3 separate regions of the Homo sapiens genome follow, and all the other regions are linked to region 1. The links are contacts of gene promoters, found by promoter capture Hi-C in blood cells and fetal thymus (Javierre and others, 2016). All regions are on one chromosome and are shown on one strand. Each heading gives the region's core, a stretch centred on a gene start or on the middle of the fragment in contact. The rest is flanking DNA. Distances are from core to core; before and after follow the strand shown. Region 1 holds the start of PRMT3 (protein arginine methyltransferase 3). Region 2 holds the start of BTBD10 (BTB domain containing 10). Region 3 overlaps CCDC34 (coiled-coil domain containing 34).

Evidence for each region. Contacts are between HindIII fragments. The CHiCAGO score rates a contact against its expected background, and 5 or more counts as called.
Region 2: a contact is called between a fragment that was not itself captured here and the fragment with the promoter of PRMT3 in region 1, in 1 of 17 cell types (total B cells). The highest score is 5.4, in total B cells.
Region 3: a fragment that was not itself captured here is called in contact with the fragment with the promoter of PRMT3 in region 1 in 1 of 17 cell types (total CD8 T cells); the score reaches 9.7 in total CD8 T cells.

The regions. Positions count from the first base shown.
Region 1 is chr11:20,386,377-20,389,076 of GRCh38, reverse strand. It overlaps PRMT3 (protein arginine methyltransferase 3), which reads right to left and starts at 1,361. Exons shown (of 16, transcript NM_005788.4): 1 at 1,303-1,361; 2 at 923-1,058. The coding sequence starts at 1,330. RefSeq lists enhancers at 491-540, 396-1,002, 1,003-1,610, 1,484-1,653 and a silencer at 1,091-1,650. The HindIII fragment of the contact is 3,061 bases long and covers 715-2,700 here.
Region 2 is chr11:13,460,483-13,463,433 of GRCh38, reverse strand. BTBD10 (BTB domain containing 10) reads left to right here and starts at 212. Exons shown (of 9, transcript NM_032320.7): 1 at 212-342. RefSeq lists an enhancer at 1-32. The HindIII fragment of the contact is 860 bases long and covers 821-1,680 here.
Region 3 is chr11:27,360,159-27,362,893 of GRCh38, reverse strand. It overlaps CCDC34 (coiled-coil domain containing 34), which reads left to right. Exons shown (of 6, transcript NM_030771.2): 1 at 1-58. Among named protein-coding and RNA genes, the nearest start is that of CCDC34, 1.7 kb to the left of the region's middle. RefSeq lists an enhancer at 1-285 and a silencer at 1,578-1,872. The HindIII fragment of the contact is 3,738 bases long and covers 1-2,735 here.

The sequences.
Region 1 (2,700 bases), core at 112-2,611:
TCGACTATTTATGGAGGCTATCACAGCCACGGTACCACTGGTGCTCAATAAATATTTTATGACAACTAGAATATATACAGGCATTCTATCTACCCAATGGGGCTACAGATGAGAACACTAACGCACCACCACTCAGCACCATGCCCAGATACAGGGAACACTGGAAAATGTATTAAAGTAACACCGGCCAATGCCAACCGGGCCTCTTTCATGCCTACTTGCCTAGGACAGGAGCCAAAGCTTCCCAAGACTAACAGGCAGAATTTTAAGTGGCAAGAATGTGAGTTTGGAAATAAGCACACCACAGCTTTGTGACCTTGAGCAAATTATTGATACTACAGTCTTTTTCCTTAAGTGAAAAGTCCTACTTAAGTAAGGTGAACTTCCTTCTTAGACTATGGAAACCGCTCAAATAAAAAAGAAATGTTTCACCTGAGAAGCTCTGTACTGGTCAAAGAATTAGCATGGTAAAGCCGGAAGGCTCCGTAGGGATTATCTAGTTCAGGGTGGCTGCCAAATATGTTACTCGTTAGTAGTAACTCGTTAGTAACTTCACTGTTACTTCCGATCTTGTCCTCATAAAAACAGAATATTCTTAGACCCCATCCCTGACTTGGAAGGATTCAGGTGCAGAGTTCAGTATCATTTTGTTTTCAGCGTCTCAAGTGACAAGATTTGGGAACCACAGATTCAATGCACTACCAGTCAAAAGCTTGCAGTACAACCGGCCTTCCAGTTCACGGTTCCCCCTCTCTACTACCGAGGGTCCTCCTTCTCCACAAGCCCTCACCCCAGACCAGTGGTTCCAGAATTCAAAGACAGGCCACTCTGGCTTGCCTCCCGCCCGAAGGCGTTCCTGGGCACACAGACCCCACGCGCCCGGGCACCCTAGGGCAGAGGCCAGGCGCTGAGGCGGACGAACCTGTTACAGAACAGGCAGGGGGTCTGCTGCTTGCCGTGGGGGAGATCTGCATCGTCCTCATCCTCCCAGGCGGCCTCGTCCCCGCTGTCCGACAGTTCTGGCAGGTCCTCCTCATTCTCCACAGCGCCCCGGCCGCCTAACACACACACACAACAATCAGATCGGCCTCGGACACCGGTGCGGCCCGGGGGCTCGAGGAGCAGGTGACGATGGGCTCTCCTCCGCCCCGTTCGCCCGCGGCCCTCACTCAGCACCTCCTTCATGATCCCTGCGAGCCCCCCACCCTGCCCGGGCCCGTGTCCCGGAGGGTCTTCCACCGGCCCCACAGCGGCGCGGCCTGGGGCTGGACGAGCCGGGTGCTGAGGGGCCAGGGTACCCACCGGTAGCGCCTGACGCTAACGAGCACATGGCTGTGGTGCCCCGAGAGCCCGGCGTGTCTGGGGGCGGGGACCGGGTTGGGCAACGAGCGCGCGCAGCGGCCGCCGACTCCAGGAACGAGCGCGAGCACAAGCGCGAACCCGCGGCGGGACCCGGGCTCCGGAAACTTCGCAGACCGCCGGGAACGCCGAAGCGCGCGCGCTGGCTCGCAATCGCTTCCGGCCTCGAGGCGCCGTGCGGGTCACGTGAGGTGGGGGCGGGGCGAGAGCGGGGGCTCCGCCTCCTCCTGCCGCAGGGTTGGCGCAGTGCGCGCTGAAGAGGCGCGCTGATGACGGTTAATGTTGCAGCCCGGAAGATGACTTTTGTCTCCTCCTTGGGTTGCGGCAGGCGTTAGTGGGAGGTCGCGGCCCGCTGCTGTGAGCCCCAAGGCAGAGAGACGTCGCTGCGGTTTTGGGGTTGGCATCCTGTCCTCTGTGCGCCCCTTTTTCCTGGGATGAGCGGTTAGCGGAGGGGCGATCGGCCCATGACGCCCTCTGGTGGCGGAGGAGGCCAAACGCTGGAGGCTCGGCTGGTTTCTGGGCTCCCAGGTCCTGGAGGGGGTGCAGCTGGCGAGAGGGAACGAACTGCATGGGCCAGGGTGGGTCTACTGCAGGGACAGATAGGTGTCAAACCCCCCAAGACGGATTTTAATCTTTGGTTAAGTGAGAACGTGAACTCTAGAGGCAGCCTGCTGGGTTTGAATCCTACCCACGTCACTTTGTAACTGTGATCTTGGGCAAGTTACTCGACCTCTCTCTGCCTCAGTTTCATCAAATACAAAACAAGGATAATAACTGCACTTGGGCAGGGCACGGTGGCTCACGTCTATAGTACCAGCACTTTGGGAGGCTGAGGCGGGCGGATCACCTGAGGTCAGGAGTTGGAGACCAGCCTGGCCAACATGGTGAAACCCTGTCCCTACTAAAAATACAAAAATTAACCAGGTGTGGTGGCACGCGCCTGCAATCCCAGCTACTTGGGAGGCTGAGGCAGGAGAATTGCTTGAGCCCGGGAGGCGGAGCTTGTGGTGAGCCGAGATTGTGCCACCGTACTCCAGCCTGGGCAACAGAGCAAGACTCCATCTTAAAAAAAAAAAAACAAAAAACAAAAAACCTGGACTAACTTCAGAACTACAGTAAGGATAAAACGAGTTAATACATGTAAAGTGCTCAGACATAACTATTTAAGCCAGGGAGTGATGCTCTCAGATGTGTTGAGAAAGTAACAATCTGGCTGCTGTGTGGGGAAGAACACAAATGTTCCCCTGCCTGCCTCATGCCACGTCCCTTTCTTCCTTTCCTTATATCTCTTCAAACCATAGAACTTTTTTTTGTTTGATTTTTGAGACGGAGTTTCGCTCT
Region 2 (2,951 bases), core at 1-2,500, 6.9 Mb after region 1:
GGTCGCGCGGCGCCTTCCTCTCCACGCGCCTGAGATCCCACCCGTGGCCGCCGCGCCCTCAACTGCCTTCTCCTTCGGTGCCCCGCCCACCCCTGGGCGGAGAGCACCGTTCTCGCGAGAACGCTGCTGGCCTCGCCTCTTCGCATTGTGAGCTCTCGCGGTAAGAGGCTGAGGAGCCGGCCTGCAACCTGCCGGGGCGGCTCCGCTACGCGCAGCCGCCTCAGTGGCTTCCTCCACAGCCACCTCCGGAGGGATCTGGCTGAGGAGGAAGTGGAGGTGTCACTGGCCCCGGCCTTTGCCCCAATCTTGTGTGGGCACTGAAGGGGGACTACAGGTTCGAGAGTGAGTGGACTCAGCTGGGGAACTCGGCGGGGGCGGCGCGGGAGGCTGGGCTTGGCCGGGGCGAAAGAGGAAAGGGGCGGAGGGCGAATCTGGGCGTGAGAGCCAGGCTGCTGCGGCGGTGGTCTGGGCGGCCGGACCCTGCTCGGGTACCGTGGGTGGCGTTTTGGGCTCCGGCCACGAGCACCCAATTAGGAGAGGCCGGGATAAGACTTGAGTTTTGCGGCTGCTGCTTTTGGGTTGGGAGTCCGGGGGCCTTTCTCCGGGGATGAAGGCGATACCCTCATCCCTTTCCAGGGCAGAGGAACCCCGTGCCCCGCCCCTTTCCTGTCATCTCAGACGAACGCAGCGACATCCTGAGGAAGGCGCATCACAATAGGGGATAAGGTGGTGGGCAGCCTCCCTCTGGGTGAAGAGGAGTGAGACCCCACTAACGTGCTGCGTGGTTTTATGTTGTAACCATTTTACGTGTGGTAAAGCTTTGTTTTCTTAAAACTTGCACGGAAAAGGTTCTGATGTCTTTCTTCTTCAGATGCAGGTGCCCTGACACCCTTATCTTTGGGAATGGGGCGGGGGAAGGTGAGACATCGGTTAGTAATTTGTTAGTGTGGGCCAGTGTGACTGTCCCTGGGCCTCACAGATTTCCTGCTTCTCCTTTCTCAGTATTCTGAGTCCATGATGAAAAGTCACTAGTCCAGACATGCTGAAAGATAGAGCTTCACTTGCTTGTGGCTTTGTGCACTTAGTAAACAAGATTATTTTACGAAGATTTATTATCTTGCAGAGTTTTCATGCTTTTTATTTAAATTAGCAATCTAAATGAAACAGCACAGGATATTAATTGTATTTGGACAACTGAGTTCCTTCCCGCCCCTATCCTCCCAACCCCCCAACTACACAAATTTGATCAAAATCTTTTAGAGAGGGGGTTAGGGATAAATTTTCAATGAAAGAGACTGTGGAAATCGGAATAAGAGATATAATAAAGAATGCAGCCATAACGGCCAAAAGAGTTTCTGTATTAGAGAGCCTGTCCAGGATTGAAGTTCAGTCCTGAAACCCAGGACTGCAGTTGTCATTTGAATATAAAGCGGAAAGCAGTAGAAAATACTTGGGAAGGGATTTGAAAGTGGACCAAGACTGGTAAAAAAAAAAAAAAAAAAAGTGTGAGAAGAATTATTTCTGATGATGTAAATGTGTTTTATAAATTTTCCCAATATTTCTCAGCGTGTATGACCTAACAGCTATTATATTAATACATACAAAGTAGGAAGGAAGTTTCTGAAGCATGGAATGTGGTAAGGAACCACCAGAGAGTAACAGTGTTCAATCAGGAAAGCTTTTAGTGTTTCAACAATGTTTTTGTGTTCGTTCACCTTTTTTCTCACTCCCAGAAAAGCTTTCAGATAGACTTCTAACCCTATGTAATTATGTTACCCTTCCACCAGTCTGAATTTTCTTCTTTCTCACTCCCTCTAAGCCATGTGAATTTTTTAAATTATTAACTATGGAGTTGCAAACCACTGTGGTCTGCTTTTGGCTTTTTATAATAGGTGACTTAGGGAAGTATGGAAGTGATATGGAAAATATTGTGCACCTTTCAAAGCCATAGCATGAGCAACAAACTCACATGCCTTCGGGTACTAGTTAGATAATGAAAATGAGGGAAATGCACTATGCCTTATCAGAGAGACATCCAAGTCTCAGGTCCCCCTAATCAGTGCTATATAAGAATATGGACCCCATCTTCAGCATTCTCAAGAGAACTCGGAAATCTAGATTTTTGCATTCAGTGTCTTGCGTCTTAAAAATATTGACAACTAATTAAAACCATTAAAAATATCATGTGACTGAATCAAATCCAAACCTGTCCATAGTTGTATTCTCCTCTCCAGTTTAGAAGCTCTGTTATAAATCAAAATTAATAAATTTTATGACTGGAAAAAAAGGAGGTTTAAAGCAAGTTTGGAGTTTCAAACTTAAGGGGTCTTGGGAAAAATGTCACATCTAATTGAAAACAGTAGTTAAGTTTAATAGCCTTTAAGTATAGTTATAGTAGGGCAATTTGAACTGGTATTTACTATAAACGTTTTAACTGTGGAAATAACTGAAGAAAAAGCATCTCAGTATTTATGGTTTAAAAACTCAGAGTTCTGAGCAAAGCTGATTTATAGGTATCTTGTACAGAAATTGAATTATTTAGAAGCTCTTTATTGTATTTGCAGCTAATATATAAAATTAAATACAAGAGACCCTCTACAGTCCATTTCAGGATTTGAATGTTTATTGTTTGCTGTGCTATCCCACATTGTCTTCCTAGGCATTGACTTACTGGAAGAAATACTGATCCCTTGGATTTTATTCCATGCCAGATGGAGATTGGAGGGGTTTGGCAACAGGATGGAAAGAACTGGGTGGAGAAAGTGTGATGTGAAGCAAACACTCTTGTGCCCCTTCCTTACATTGTTCATTAAAAGATTGATTTGTGTTAGTTTTTCTTGTAAGAAGGATAGGTATATTAATTGATTAAACTTAGTGCCTTATACATAGTAGAGTTTAATGACGTGTGGAATTGACCTTTGTGGATTAAGCCTCATTTACCCATTAATGTG
Region 3 (2,735 bases), core at 90-2,589, 7.0 Mb before region 1:
ATGATTCAGAGGCCAAAGTGGCGAGCCTGAGAGGAATGGAGTTACAGGGGTGCGCCAGGTAAACCCGAGGCCGCCCGGCCGATTCAGCCCTTTTCAAGATTCCTTAGACCCTCTTAAGTACCCCCTTCTAACATCCTCCTGCCCTCCGCCCCAAAGGCAGAGCAGGCACTTGCAGACTGAGGTGCCGTGGTTTTTTTTGCACATAAAGAGCCCTGTGCAAATTCTTGCAAATGACCATAGATTTCCTATGGCTCTTAATCCTTTTTTCCTGAGATATTATGATTGCTGCAGTCTCACTTCCCAGAAAAATGTACATAGTCTCAAACACACAAAACTCTGCTACCATTTCAGGCGTTCTATGAATCCTCAAAAGCCAGATTGTGCACTGCAGAACTCTTATCCCAAACCTGAACACCAGAACGTGGTTTACTGCACCTTAGTAGTACCTGTGGTTGGTTATTCTGAAAACATACTGATTGCTAGTGAAGTAGGTTGTAGTAAACAGGTCACTTTTTATAACATAAAGTGCTGAAGCACAGAGATTAGCAATGTCAACCTCAGCATGTGGAGACGTGGTTAGAGAGGATCTGAGCATGCACAGAGGAATGGATGTCATTGTATCAATGTTAGGACCAATGGGGTTATTAAAACTGTCTTAATTTGTTTATTTCTACTGTTACTCACTCAGCAAACATTGTTTGCCACATATTAGTCTACGTACTGGGGACCGTAAACAAGATACTGGTCTCTACTCTCATGAATTGAAGCCTAAATCAATCCACTTATTTTACAGATAATAAAACCATGGCTCAGAATGCAAAAAGTGACTCAAAGGCATGCACCTAGTTATTAGCAGACCTGGGTCTACTACGAAGATAGACAGATCATGTTCTCTTTCCTAAACTGCATGCCTAGTATTGGGTATACAGAAGTAGGAGCAAAGGGCCAATCCCTGAAGGAATATTTCTGAGACAGGCCCAGTAATGCAGGTCTATTCTGGGATAGACTCATTACGTTTTCTTCGGAAATCATTTACAAGTTTATGATTGTCAAGCTGTGTAAGGCACAGTACAGGAGCTCTAAGAAATACAGGCCAGAGAACTCATGCTTTATGTGTAAATAGCAAGATTCCCCCTTCAGTACAGGGTGTTCATATCCAGCATGAGTGAATGGAATATGGAACCCATATGAAGTAACCCGTATACATGGTTACAGGAGTGAATTAGTTACGAATGAGAAGTAAAAGTAAGTACATTGGTGGGAATGGAGATCAGAAAGAGTAACCAAGCAAGCCACTCATCCAGGCTGGTTGTAGCAACAAGAAACAGGCCTCCTCTGATCAACCTGATAGTAAAATTTAATGGTAGAGTTAGGGTTTCAGTAAATTGTTTTCATCTGGGCCTTTGTAGGTATTCTTCAGGACTGAGTTGGTCTCAAAGGTATTTAAAGTAAATTTGAAGGCTTTAGGAAATACTTTCTGAGCATAATCAACTGGACTAAGCAATCTGGACACAAGTTAGTGACCTGCGGAATAAATGACCATCGGAACTATAGCTCAGCTACTGAAACCTTGCATTAGTTTCCAAGAGCCAAAGCCCTGACTAAGTGGAGCCTGCCAGGGGAGGAGGTGAACGTATGTACGTCTCACTTATCCAAAGCCAGAATGAGCTGGTAGCACCACAGGGCTAAGGCTGCCTTCCTTATCACATTTCAGTCCCTATGAATCAAAGGAGTAGCTGGGACGTGGGTTTGAAAAGAGAATGCTGAAGTTGTCAAGCATTGTGTGTGGCAAGTGTCAGATGCTTATTAGGTGCTCAATAAACGTTTGCTGACTGCATGTCCATTTCCCACTTCCTAAAGAACAGATACATGCAGTGATTATTGTCAAATGCTTCAGAAACTTAGCACTTCCTTTCAGGAAAGGTAGATTTTTAGAAAATTTCCTCATTCTTTCTCTCCATTGGTCCTAACATTCTTTGATACAATGACATCCATTCCTCTGTGCATGCTCAGATCCTATCTAACCATGTCTCCACATGCTGAGGTTGACATTGCTAATCTCTGTGCTTCAGCACTTTGTGTTATAAAAAGTGACCTGTTTACTACAACCTACTTCACTAGCAATCAGTATGTTTTCAGAATAACCAACCACAGGTACTACTAAGGTGCAGTAAACCACGTTCTGGTGTTCAGGTTTGGGATAAGAGTTCTGGAGTCCACAATCTGGCTTTTGAGGTCAAACTGCTGACCTCTCTTTGGTGCCCTGGACAGCTTGGGGGTGACAGGATGAAGAGAGCAGGCAACCTGAGTCAGCCCTTTCATTGTTCTGGGTTTTGAGTATTCTGTGTGAAGCAGAGAGCAACCTAGAGCTGTGTGGGATTTTATGCCTTTTCTCCATGCCTCACCTGCCATATTGATCTGACTGGCAAAACGAATCGGGTAAGGCTTCTTTGAGCTAGGCTCAGGCATCAGCTGCACATAATGGATATTACCTCAAGGTATTTTTGGTATAAATAGTGCCATGTTTAGAGGATGCATTGACCTTCAAGGGTATTGGTCAGAACTGAGATTAAGCTCAAAGTTAGCTTCAGACAAGATAATGAGAAGCGTTTTCCTGGAATATTTTACAATGTGCTCTGGGCCTGCTGTTTATTCAGCTTTATCCTGGTTTTTCTACCACTATCCATTAGGAAAACCATGCTGTAATAAATATCTTGTTCACAAATGGCCACTTG